Regions from separate parts of the Homo sapiens genome. Here region 1 is linked to region 2. The links are contacts of gene promoters, found by promoter capture Hi-C in blood cells and fetal thymus (Javierre and others, 2016). All regions are on one chromosome and are shown on one strand. Each heading gives the region's core, a stretch centred on a gene start or on the middle of the fragment in contact. The rest is flanking DNA. Distances are from core to core; before and after follow the strand shown.

Evidence for each region. Contacts are between HindIII fragments. The CHiCAGO score rates a contact against its expected background, and 5 or more counts as called.
Region 1: a fragment that was not itself captured here is called in contact with the fragment with the promoter of ZXDB in region 2 in 1 of 17 cell types (total B cells); the score reaches 7.0 in total B cells.

What each region holds. Positions count from the first base shown.
Region 1 is chrX:55,710,484-55,717,056 of GRCh38, forward strand. No RefSeq gene overlaps it. Among named protein-coding and RNA genes, the nearest start is that of RRAGB, 4.0 kb to the right of the region's middle. The HindIII fragment of the contact is 1,189 bases long and covers 3,792-4,980 here.
Region 2 is chrX:57,587,343-57,593,799 of GRCh38, forward strand. It overlaps ZXDB (zinc finger X-linked duplicated B), which reads left to right and starts at 4,669. Exons shown (of 1, transcript NM_007157.4): 1 at 4,669-6,457. The coding sequence starts at 4,707. RefSeq lists silencers at 5,007-5,296, 5,357-5,546. The HindIII fragment of the contact is 4,972 bases long and covers 3,519-6,457 here.

The DNA of each region.
Region 1 (6,573 bases), core at 3,136-5,635, 1.9 Mb before region 2:
CTGCAAGCCAGGAATTAAAACCTGAACCTGGGCTACTATTGTAAAAAGAGAAAGCATGGCCACGTGGTTATAATGTCAAGCTTCCAAGGACATAAAAGGCAAGAGGGAAACCTCATCCAGTTTTTTTTCAGGGAACTGCAGCAAAGTTTGTAACCAGTTTTCTGGGCCATCTTGAATAGTGGGCTCTGGGGTCCTAGGGCCATGTTCCATCCTAAGGTACTCCTCTTTTATGACAGAACAATACAGAAAGACATACAAAGAATGCCAGATTTGCTACAGCTTAAGACTAGCCTCACAAATCCTCATAAATCCTTTTTATCCATTAATCAAACATTACACAGGAAATAAACAGTTATTTTTACCATTCTTTCAACTGGTTTGCACGGGGGAGCGGGGGGAGAGAGAGAGAGACCAGAAGTCTGACTCATAAGAAATTCTTGCTCTTTTGCCAGCATGCCAGGCTTCTGGGTTTCCTTTCCCTGATTCAACCTAGTGACCCGGCTTCCTGCACCATAGCCCTGGGGGCCAAGCTGCAACACTAAGGAAAATTATCATTTTCTGTTCTGGCCAGAGCAAAATACATATGACAAAACATAGACATTAGCCACTGTGCAATATCAAACTGGCAAGGCCCAAACTTGCCCCTGGTTGGGCCCCATTATCATTAATCCAACCTCTGACCAGGAGTTTCAACTTGTGGTCTCTGGGCAAGATGGTCACCCTGAGTAATAGAAAAGATAGGAAAGAGAAGGGAGAGAAAGAAAAGCATTGCCTGTGGCAGGGTGGGGAAGGTGAAGAACTCAGGGAGGTAAAGCAAAAGACCCACCCCCTGCAGCCACACTGAATCAAAAGTTCAGATGGGCGCTTTTCAGTTGTGAAGGCATATTTTCCAGCAGTCCCATCAGCTCTCAACTTTCTCGTTTTTGGGGAGAAAAAAGCCCCCCATATCCCACTATCCTGTACATGCCTAATCCTGTCACCCACAGCAAAGGGTGCAAGGCAGATTATTCCAAAGATAATAGCAGTTAACATCCTGTAGTGCCAAACTCATTCTTAGCCAAAAGGGAATTTACTGAGAGGAGCCTCTAACCCCCTAAGTCTTAGAAGGGAACCTAATTTTCCTAAGTTGGGCCTCTAACCCAAGGTTGGTCAAGTGTCCTTGCCTTTTATTAAGAGGGGCCTCTAACCCACTCTGTCTTATGAGAGACTTTAACTCCTCTAAATTGGGCCTCTAACCCAATCGCGTCCTTTACCTGGGTACCCCACCACTTACCCAAAATGGGACAATCAGTGCTGCAGTTTATTTCCTTTTGGTCGGGTTGTTTCTTCAGTATTGTCCCTTCGAGGTTTGTCAAAAAGATGTTACTAGACCCCACCACTTACCCAAAGTTAGTCTTTGGGTTAGGTGTTTCTGCAGTATAGTCCCTTTGGTGGTTGTAAGAAAAAATTCAGGACAAGTCCATAAAGTGAAAGCAAGATATTAGGAAAGTAAAGTAATAAAAGAACGGCTACTCCATAGACAGAGCAGTCCCAAGGGGCACTGGTTGCCCATTTTTATGGTTATTTCTTGATGATATGCTAAACAAGGGGTGGATTATTCATGCATCCCCTGTTTAGACCTTATAGAGTAACTTCCTGACATTGCCATGCCATTTGTAAACTGTCATGGTGCTGGTTGGTGTAGCAGTGAGGGCAACCAGAGGTCACTCTCGTCACCATCTTTGTTTTGGTGAGTTTTAACCGGCTTCTTTAATGCCACCTGTTTTATCAGCAAGGTCTTTATGACCTGTATCTTGTGCTGACCTTGTATCTCATCCTGTAACTTAGAATGCCTTAATTGTCTGGGAATGCAGCCCAGCAGGTCTCAGCCTTATTCTACCCAGCCCCTACTAAAGATGGAGTTGCTCTGGTTCAAATACCTCTGACAGTTCAGGTTTTTCTACCTAGGTAATGGCTCCCATGGAGGCTTCTGCTCATGGAATTTTGGTCTGGAAACTTGTCATTATCTGTATTTGCCTCTCTCCCCAATTCTGGCAGCAGCTGTGTGTCCTGTGGCCTCACTTCTCTAAAGGAATTAAGACTAATTGTTGATTTTTCAGTTTGTTCAGTTTTTTACTTATTGTTAACATGGAGTGGTGACTTTTAAGCTCCTTATATGTAGGATTGGAAACTGAAAGTCCCCACATTAAGTTTTCATCAATCAAGTCGTTAAATCTTGTTAAATAGAACATTTTGTGATATTTTAAGCCATGATGTGGGAATGGGGAGAAAAGAGCTGCTAGCAGTATGTAGGAGTAAACTTAAGGAGCTCTGGGAAGTAGCAGTGAGCTATGGAAAAAGAGGAAGAAGGGAAAGGTGGAGGAGGAGAAGGGCAGGCAACTTATGAGTGACAGTTTGAGTATTGGAGACTCAGGAGTATGTTTGCAGATACAGGTAACTAGATTGAATTTAGGGCATAAAATGAAACTTATTAAAGGATTTGTTGGGGGCCTGTATTACTTTTTCTTGCTGAGATGGATGGTTAAAAAAATATATGTGTTGGGATCTAGACAAAGGGAATGCTGATGTTTGTGTGAGTATAGTGGAGCTGAGGTGTTAAGACAGAAGCATCTGACAGGCAGTGGAACCTGAAATAGAGTGATGTTTGTATCCCTGCTGTCCAACACAGTTCCTGGCACCGAAAGGCTGCTCAATAAACATTTGTTGAATGAATGTGTGAGTAATAGAGCTTAGTTCACACTTTCTGAAAAGAACCTATAATTAAATGTTTAAAAATTAATTCAACAAAAATAAAAAGTGACCTCCGCTTCCTATGTATGTAAGGGTTTTTTTTTTTTTAAGAATAAAAATGTGAAAAATAAGCAGCCAAAGGTACCTGGGTAGAAACCAGAATCTGAACTGCTGGACTATATAGTGTCAACAAAGAGTCAAACTCTGGAAAACATTTGATGAGATTTATTCTGAGCCAAATAGGAGTGACCATGGCCTGTGATACAGTCCTCAGGAGATCCTGAAAACAAGTGCCCAAGGTGGCTGCGGTGCAGCTTGGTTTTATACATTTTAGGGAGACAAGGGACTTCAGTCAAATACATGTAAGAAATATATGGGTTTGGCCCAGAAAGGTGGGACAACTCGGAGTGGGGGTGGGAGGGGGGCTTCCAGCTTATAGGTAGATTGAAAAAATTTCTGGTTGACAATTGGTTGAGTTTAAAGACCTAGGATCAATAGAAAGGAATGTTTGGGTTAAGATAAGAGGTTGTGGAGACTAAAGTTTAATCATGCAGGAAGCCTGCAGGTTCAGAAAGAATAGAATGTAAATGCTTCTTATCAGATTTAAAGGTCTGTGTTGATGTTAAAGCTGGAGAAATATAATGAGGCATGTTTGACCCCTACTTCCTGTCATGGCCAGAAAGTCACTCAGGATACATTTTTAAAGAGTGCCCTGGCCGAGGAGAAAGCACATTCAAATGGTTGAGGAACCTTGGTATTTTATTTTTGATTTACAATAGGAATGCACTGCACATTGGCCCTATTCACCATTATTTGGAATCTATGCTTATTTGATTTAGTTTCTCAATCCTTTTCCACTACCTTTCTTCCATTCCCTTCCTTCTACCCCTCTTCCTCCTTTTTCCTCTTCTCCTTACCCCTCTATTCCTTCCCTCTTTCCCATCTCCCCACTTCTCCCCCTTTTCTTCTTCATCCCTCCCCTCCCCTTCTTTATCTGTTTCTTCCTCTTCTTACTTCTTGCCTCTTGGCACTTTGAGGCAACTATCAGCAGTTCCTTATGAAGCTTGTGAGGTAGTGAATGTGGGTAGAGAAATATAGCTCGTGAGTTGCTATAGGCCAGATCTTGAAGGTCCTTGTATTGACACACTTTTTCCTTAAGTTATGGGAGGATTTTAAAGTAGAGAAGTAGTCTCCTCCGATTTGTGGTTTAAAAGATTACTCAAGTTGAGGTTGCAGTGAGCCATGATTGTGCCACTGTACTCCAGCTTGGGTCAGAGAGCAAAACCCTGTCTCAAAAACAACAAGAACAACAACAACTACAACGACGATAAAAAGAAATTTGATCGCACCTGTAATCCCAGCACCTTGGGAGGCCAAGGTGGGCAGATCCCTTGAGGCCAGGAGTTTGAGTCTGGCAACAAAGTGAGACCCAGTCTCAACAAAAACTAGTTAATTAATTAATTAAAATAAAGGATCACTTGAGCAGCTTTTAGAGAGGATGGATGGTTTGAAGGAGGGGGAAAAGGATACCAGCAGCAACAGGGAGACAGTATTTTTTTTTTGCTTGCTTTGTCGCCCAGGTTGGAGTGCAGTGGTGCGATCTTGGCTCACTGCAACCTCCGCCTCCTGAGTTCAAGCAATTCTCCTGCCTCAGCCTCCCGAGTAGCTGGGATTATAGGCGCGTGCCACCACACCTGGCTAATTTTTGTAGTTTTAGTACAGATGAGGTTTCACTATGTTGGCCAGGCTGGTATCGAACTCCTGACCTCAGGTGATTCGCCCACTTTGGCCTCCCAAAGTGCTGGGATTACAGGTGTAAGCCACTGCACCTGGCCGAGACAGTACATTTTTATAAAAGAGTGGTTTAAGGGGCCAATTTGGCTGGTGAAGCCCGGGGGCAGTAGGTGTTGGAAGACATATTTGAAAGCTGCCTTTAGAAAGCAAGCACATATTAATTACGTCAAATGTTTTGGGGGATGAGATGACTAATGAAGATCAACTCACTCACTCCCAACCCCTTTGGAGCTGCCACTGTGGGAAAATCACTTAGTAGGCTATTGTGGATATCTAGGCCAGAGATTATGATAGCTGGAACAAAAAGAGTGGCAGTAAGAATAAGAGCAGGCAGGTAGTAGAAAATAGACTGATCATGACCTGGTCTCATTGACACGTATGGAGGGCAGTGAATCTAAGGTGACTTCCTGGTTTGGGACTCAGGATCTTTCATCAGACAAGGAAAGCCAGAATGGAAGCTTGTTTGGGGGTAGTTGGTTGGAAGGAGACAAAAGATTAGCTAGTGATAGAGCGAAGGATCACTAATCAGAGTAGAATAACTTTTTTCTTGAGGCAAGGCAGTTGTGGAGAAAAGGAATCACACAGGACCTCAAGTGGAAAGTGTGGGAGCAGACAGTGTAACTGCCCAACGGGTTCACCTTGCCTGCTGCCTAGACAGAGCTGATTTATCAAGACAGGGGAATTGCAATGGAGAAAGAGTAATTCATGCAGAGCCAGCTGTGGGTGAGACTGCAGTTTTATTACTCAAATCAGTTTCGGGGGATTGAAATTTTTAACAATAATTTGGTGGGTAGGGGCTTGGGAAGTGGGGAGTGTTGACTGGTCAAGTTGGATATGGAATCATAGGGGGCTCTAAGTGAGTTTTTCTTGCTATCTTCTGTTCCTGGGTGGGATCGCAGAACTGGCTGGGCCAGATTACTGGTCTGGGTGCTGTAAGTGAAACGAGGGAAGTTCCCCTATCCCCCTTGCAGGGCATGCCACAGCGGGAGTGGCTCACTGCTTCACAACCTCTAGGGGGAGCATGCAGAGGGGCAGGCTGTGGGGCTCCGACCCCATGGCAACCTCTAGGGGTGAATATAACATTTGGGTGGGAAGGCAGGAGTGCCTATCCTCACCTAGGTCCATGGGCACAGGCCCCAGGGTGGAGCCCTAGCCACGGACCCGCCTTTCTCTGCCCAGCACTTTCCTGCCCCGCTCCTGTATCATAAGCTGGTGCATCTGAATGCAGGGTCTGCAAAACATATCAAACAGTGATCTTAGGTTTTAAAACAGTGATGTTATTCCTGGGAGCAATTTGGGGAGGTTCAGACTCTTGCAGCTGGAGGCTGCATGGCCCCTGAATTGTAATTTCTAATCTTGTAATCTTGTGGCTAATTTGTTAGTCCTGCAAAGGCCGACTGGTTCCCAGGTAAGAAGGTTTTTTTGTTTTTTTGTTTTTTTTTAGTGGGGGGCAGCGGGAGGGAGAAAGGGCTATTATCAATTTTGTATCAGAGTTAAACTATAAACTAAATTCCTTCCCAAGGTTAGTTCGGCCTACGCCCAGGAATGAACAAGGACACCTTAAAGGTTAGATGTAAGATGGAGTCGGTGAGGTCTGATCTCTTTCACTGTCATAATTTCCTCAGTTACAGTTTTTGCAAAGGCAGTTTCAATAATAGTACTCTGTTTCCTGCAGTTTCTCTTCCTTCCTTCCCTTTTTTTCTTATCAAAGTAATATATGTACACACTTACGTGTAAATAATACATGTAGTATATCATATATTAATTATAAATAATATAATTAAACTACACATTTATTTAAAATAACATATTTATAACATATTATTTAAGTATTAGTTGATTATATTAAATATAATTAAATGTCATATTAATCTTATTATTATATATCATTTATACATTATAGAAATATATATAGCACAGAAGGGCTTCAGATAAAAAATAATAGTCCCCTGACATATCACGTCCTATCCCCTACCCCATTCTCCAGAAGGAACATCTTTGAACCCCTCTGGGCATTTTTCCTGGTGTGCATATCCCTACCAGTAGTCT
Region 2 (6,457 bases), core at 3,419-5,918:
AGCCCACCAAGAATCCTAAATAGTCAACTAAAACCCCTGAAATAGCCAGGCCCGTTACTTTAACCATTTGTATATCTTTAGGGGGTACAAGTACATGGATAAGTACCATGTACTTGTTGTTACATGGATATATTACCCAGTGGTGAAGTCTAGGCTTACCAGAGCAAAAACAGGGTGGTAGATAATCTCCCTTGTGCAATCAACAACTATAACCCGGCAGGTAGGGTGCCTACTATTGATACTGACTACAGAGAGTGTGGACTCCTCTAACCTGATACAGGATATGAAGCCAGTTATCAATTTATTACCTCTCAGCTCCAAATTCACCCTTCAATATATATTCTTTGATAATAGAGGGATTCTTTAAGCATCTCTCCTTTAAAGTAACATCGAAGAGCATAATGTTACACTTACTTAATAGGGGGCTCTGTAGGGACAGACACTGAAAGAGGAAGTGGTACTTCTATGATTTCTGGTTCTCAGAGTTGTGGACGTGAGGACATTCAAGAAGCTTTGTCTCAGGCCTGGGCCCAGAACAACTGTCTCTCAGCAAACCTGCAGTCCTGCTGTGCCCTAATGATCAGCTTCTTGTGGCCTTCTTGATAGGGACATGCTGTTCTCCAAGTCATCTGCCTACTGCTTCTCTCTGCTCACTTGCTCCACAGCCACACACACACACACACACACACACACACACACACACACACGACCAGGTTCATGTAGTCCTGTCAATACTGCAGCCATCTCAACACTGAGACCCCACCCTAATCCTGTGCATGGAGCATTGTTTACTCCAGGCCTCCAACTGAGCCAGGCCCCCCAACCCCTACTTCACACCCACTTACTAGCCACCAGCTATTGCTTGTCCACACTACCGTGCTTCAAAGGGGGGCTTCTTGCTTCCTCTGTGATCGTAGACCAGTTCTAGCTCTGCAGACCAGCTCAGGTACTGGCAAACCAGTGGAACTTCTCTGCCATCCAGTGGGTTCTTCTCCAATTAGGTATGAAATCCAGCCTTGGGGAGAAGCTTTCATTCTAAGTTTGTCTTTCCTTGGATACTCTCCCCCAGTCCCAGAAAACCCCATATAGAGTTGTCTTGTATTCTATATAAGATATTTTATCATAGTTTAATGATTCTTTATATTAAACCTTCTCTTTCTAGATCACTGTGTGCTTTCTATCTCTGGATTGAATCTATATTGCTACAGAACACAACATCTACAGCAAGCATCATTCTTAATGGAGAATCACTGAAAGCTTTCTCTTTAAGAGCTTCATCAAGTAAGGATGTCCACTATCACCACTTCTATTCAATAGTTTACTGGGGGTGGTGATGGGGTCCCAGACAGAGCAGTAGAGCAAGAAAAAGAAATAAGATATTTGGAAAGGAAGAAGAAAGACTGGCACTATTTACAGATGATATGACAGTGTACATAAAATTCCACAAAGTATTACAGACAAATTATTAGAATCAATAGAAGAGTTTATACGCTTGTAGGATAAAATCTTAATGAACAAAAGTCAATTGCATCCTATTTATTTACCAGAAACAAATTTAGACAGTAAAAATTCCAAACAGGATTTGCACAATATGAAGTGCCTAGGACAAAAAAGTTGCCTTTTGGGAAAAATATAAAGTATTACTTGGGCACATTAAAGGAGACCTTATTAAAAGGAGAGACAGACCAAAGCCATGAACCAAACTTTCAATATTGAGAAGTCAAATCTAAAATATCAGCACAATATGAATTAGAACCCCAAACTAGCTGTTGGTTGAAGTTTTTATGATGAGTTTATAATTTAAATGGAATTGAAATGGGCCAAAAGTAGCCAAGACACTTTTGAAGAAAGATGTAGAATTTACTGCCTTATCCAAATATCAGAATTGACTATGGATCTGTAGTAATTAAGACAGTGTGATATTTCAAACAAATAGGGCCGAGCACTTAATAGCGAGTATAGGAACTAGCCCACATATGGGTAGATACTTGATTTATGGCACTGTAAATCAGTTGGCAAAAGGCAGACTTTTCAATAAGTGGTTCACTGAGAAAACTGGATATTCAAACAAATAAATAAATAAATAAATAAATGGAACCCCACTCAACACAATATACAAACATCAATTGCAGGTGGATTAAGACCTGACTGTGAAGGGCAATAGCATACGTATTTTGGAAGAAAATATAGAAAACGCTTTCATGGCCCAGGGTTTCTTAAAACAGAAAAGATTTCTTAAAACAGATTTCTTAAAACAAAAACACACTAACCATCAGGAAAAGAATGATGAATTTGACTATATTATAATTAAGATCTTCTGTTCACAAAACACAGCACAAAGCAATGGGAAATACAAACAGAACAAGGGAATATTTTGGCCACAGGTATGGACTAGTATTTAAAATATTTAACAGGCTCATTAAGTCAGTAAGTACTAGATGAACAATAGAATAGAAACATGGGTTAAAAGAGGTAAATTTGAATAGGCCTTCTTCGGAGTAGACACTCCAAAAGGCTCATAAACACGAAAATGTGCTAAAGCTTACTAGTAATTTGGGTATTGCCCACCAGTAGACTGGCAAAATTTAAATTCTGGCAATACTTGGTGTGGGTGAAGATGTGGAGCAGTAGGGGCTCTCTGTGCTGCTGGTGGGATTGACAGCTTGCCCAATCACTACAGAGAACAATTTGGCATCATCTAGTAAAGCTCAGGATATCCATACCCTATGGCCCTGTGATTCTATTCTTGGATATATACCCTAGAGAGATTTTTACACATGTGTCCCATGAGAAATGTGCAAGAATGTTCATAATAATCGCTGAAAAATAGAAGCAATCCTAATGTTCATCTGCTGTAGAATGGAGTGGTATAATCATACCATAATCACTTTGCTATAAGCATATGCTGGAACGACAGTCGATGGAGACAAAGGATCTACTTACTTATAACTATTATGAACAACATGGATGAGTCTCAAGTATAATACAGAGTGAAAGAAACAAGTTATAAAAGGAAACTTGCCGTATGATTCCATTTATACAACTTCGTATCAACTCTATTGTTTACGGATGCGTACAAAAGTGATAAAGCTATAAAGGAAAGCAGTGAAATGATTATTACAAAGTCAGGGCAATGACTATATTCATATAGGAGAGTGTGGGTTGTGATTGGGAGGAGTACAGCGGCTGTATTCTGGAAGGCTGGCAGTGGTCTATTGCTTGACCTTGGTCCTGGTTACACAGGTGTCTGCTTTTGTAAAATAATCTAAACGATACAAATATGTTTTATGCACTCTTCTATACCTCAGATTTGAAAAATGCTTCCACCAGAAAAAGTAATAGAAAGAAAAGTATGTGGAGTAGACATTTTGATGAGGTTCAAATAGTTATGGATGAATAGCTTGATTTTCAAGAGACCAAGTGTCCACTGTCATTAAAAGAGGGCGAGAGAGCTGGGAGTATTTAAACAACAGGTTACACCCCGCTCCCCCACCACCACCAATCTAGTCATTACTCTAAGCTTTCTTATCTCAGATATTTCACCCTATATTTGTGTCAATTCCCAACTCAGTCGTAACGGACAAAATGAAGGATTGTCATCATCATTAATAAGATCATTAGGCACCACAGGCCCAGCAAGCCTGGGCCACCACACTTAAATGTGAACAGGTACACCAGGTTGATTGGACAAGATCGTCTGTGCCTTTTACTTGGCAGAATCCATTGCAGTGACTCAGGATTTAACCTAAACACATTTAACTGAAACTCCTGCCCAGAGACCTCCACGTGCTGGAGAAGGCAGAGTAAACTGAGGAATGAATGCCCTCATTGTGCTGTGAGAGCAGACATGAAATTTATCACAGTACAACCGATGGTGGAAGGGCAAAAGTTGGTTTAGGTTGTGCACTGTATAGGGAGAAGCCAGGAGAAGGTTGGGTTTTTTCCAGATTTCAGTGTAAATTGTTTCATCCTCCAGACTTTGAATTTCTAGGCTGAAGAGTGCTAACCTGTTTTGGCCGCATCTCTCACTCATTCTAATGTCTGTATCAGCAAGACAAAATTTGAACTATGCGGCAAATTGTACCGAAGACTTTGCTCAAGATAATTGTGAATATGGAAGTTGTCCCGCGGGGAGGTGGGAAGGGGAAGGACATTTTCAGCAGAACTGCCAGCGCTATGGTGGTTTAATGCTGACACAGAGACAGTTTTTTCTCTCAGGAATTGTCTTTCATCCATCAGTCCAGCCAGCCAGCCAGCCAGCAAATTTTAACACACAGAAAGTACGAAGCAACATATCTAACACTGGGAGGGGCTGGGGTGTGTTTATTTGGGTATATACAATGAGTCATGGATTAAAATTGCTTCCAGCGGATAGATACCTAGGTGTTCCACAGCATTACTGAACAAGCTGTCGTCATTTCCCCATTACCTCAGAAGACCCCCTTAATTACTTACTTATATTAACTGTAGAACGTATTTATGCATACCAGGCTCTACCTCTGGGCTTTCTATTCTGTTCCAGAGACCCAGTACCAGAATATTTAAATCACTGTGGCGTTAAATACGTTTTAATATCTGATAGGGCCAGTTTCTGCGCATTGCACATTTTTTTTTCCCCTTTCAGGAACGTGTTCAGGCCCGCGGCAGGGGGCGGGATCGCGCCTCCTCCTCGGCTCTGGTTCCAGCCGAGCCTCTCGGACGCAGAGATGGAAATCCCGAAGCTGCTCCCGGCTCGCGGGACACTACAGGGCGGCGGCGGCGGCGGTATCCCCGCGGGTGGCGGCCGAGTCCACCGAGGCCCTGACTCGCCGGCTGGCCAGGTCCCCACGCGCCGCCTCCTGCTGCTCCGGGGCCCCCAAGATGGCGGGCCCGGGCGGCGGCGCGAGGAGGCCAGCACGGCATCACGGGGCCCTGGCCCAAGCCTGTTGGCGCCGAGGACCGATCAACCTAGCGGCGGCGGCGGCGGCGGCGGCGACGACTTCTTCCTGGTGCTGCTTGACCCGGTGGGTGGCGACGTGGAGACCGCGGGCTCCGGTCAGGCCGCAGGGCCTGTGTTGAGGGAGGAGGCCGAGGAGGGCCCGGGGCTCCAGGGGGGCGAGAGCGGCGCGAATCCCGCGGGGCCCACTGCGCTAGGCCCCCGCTGCCTGTCCGCGGTTCCCACTCCGGCCCCGATCTCCGCCCCCGGCCCCGCCGCGGCCTTCGCGGGCACAGTCACTATCCACAACCAGGACCTGCTGTTGCGCTTTGAGAACGGCGTCCTCACCCTGGCCACGCCCCCACCACACGCCTGGGAGCCAGGGGCCGCTCCTGCCCAGCAGCCCGGGTGTCTGATCGCCCCGCAAGCTGGGTTCCCGCATGCCGCGCACCCGGGTGACTGCCCAGAGCTGCCGCCAGACCTCCTGCTAGCTGAGCCGGCCGAACCCGCGCCAGCTCCGGCGCCTGAGGAGGAGGCGGAGGGCCCGGCCGCCGCCCTGGGCCCCCGCGGACCGCTGGGCTCCGGCCCAGGCGTGGTGCTGTACTTGTGCCCCGAGGCGCAGTGCGGGCAAACCTTCGCCAAGAAGCACCAGCTGAAGGTGCACCTGCTGACGCACAGCAGCAGCCAGGGCCAGAGGCCCTTCAAATGCCCCCTGGGTGGCTGCGGCTGGACCTTCACCACCTCTTACAAGCTCAAGAGGCACCTGCAGTCGCACGACAAACTGCGGCCCTTTGGCTGCCCGGCAGAGGGCTGTGGCAAGAGCTTCACCACAGTGTACAACCTCAAGGCGCACATGAAGGGCCATGAGCAGGAGAACTCATTCAAATGCGAGGTGTGCGAGGAGAGCTTCCCCACGCAGGCCAAACTCAGCGCCCACCAGCGCAGCCACTTCGAACCGGAGAGGCCTTACCAGTGCGCGTTTTCTGGCTGCAAGAAGACATTTATCACAGTGAGTGCTCTGTTTTCCCATAACCGCGCCCATTTCAGGGAACAGGAACTGTTTTCCTGCTCTTTTCCTGGCTGCAGCAAACAATATGACAAGGCTTGTAGGCTGAAAATTCACCTGCGGAGTCACACCGGCGAGAGACCTTTCCTTTGTGACTTTGATGGCTGTGGCTGGAACTTCACTAGCATGTCCAAACTCTTAAGGCACAAAAGAAAGCACGACGATGACCGGAGGTTCATGTGCCCTGTGGAAGGCTGTGGGAAATCTTTCACGAGGGCGGAACATCTGAAAGGCCACAGCATAACCCACCTGGGCACAAAGCCTTTCGTGTGTCCTGTGGCAGGCTGCTGTGCCAGGTTCTCTGCTCGCAGTAGCCTCTACATTCACTCCAAGAAACACCTGCAGGATGTGGACACTTGGAAAAGCCGTTGCCCGATCTCCTCTTGTAATAAACTCTTCACATCCAAGCACAGCATGAAGACGCACATGGTTAAAAGGCATAAGGTGGGCCAGGATCTCTTAGCTCAGCTAGAAGC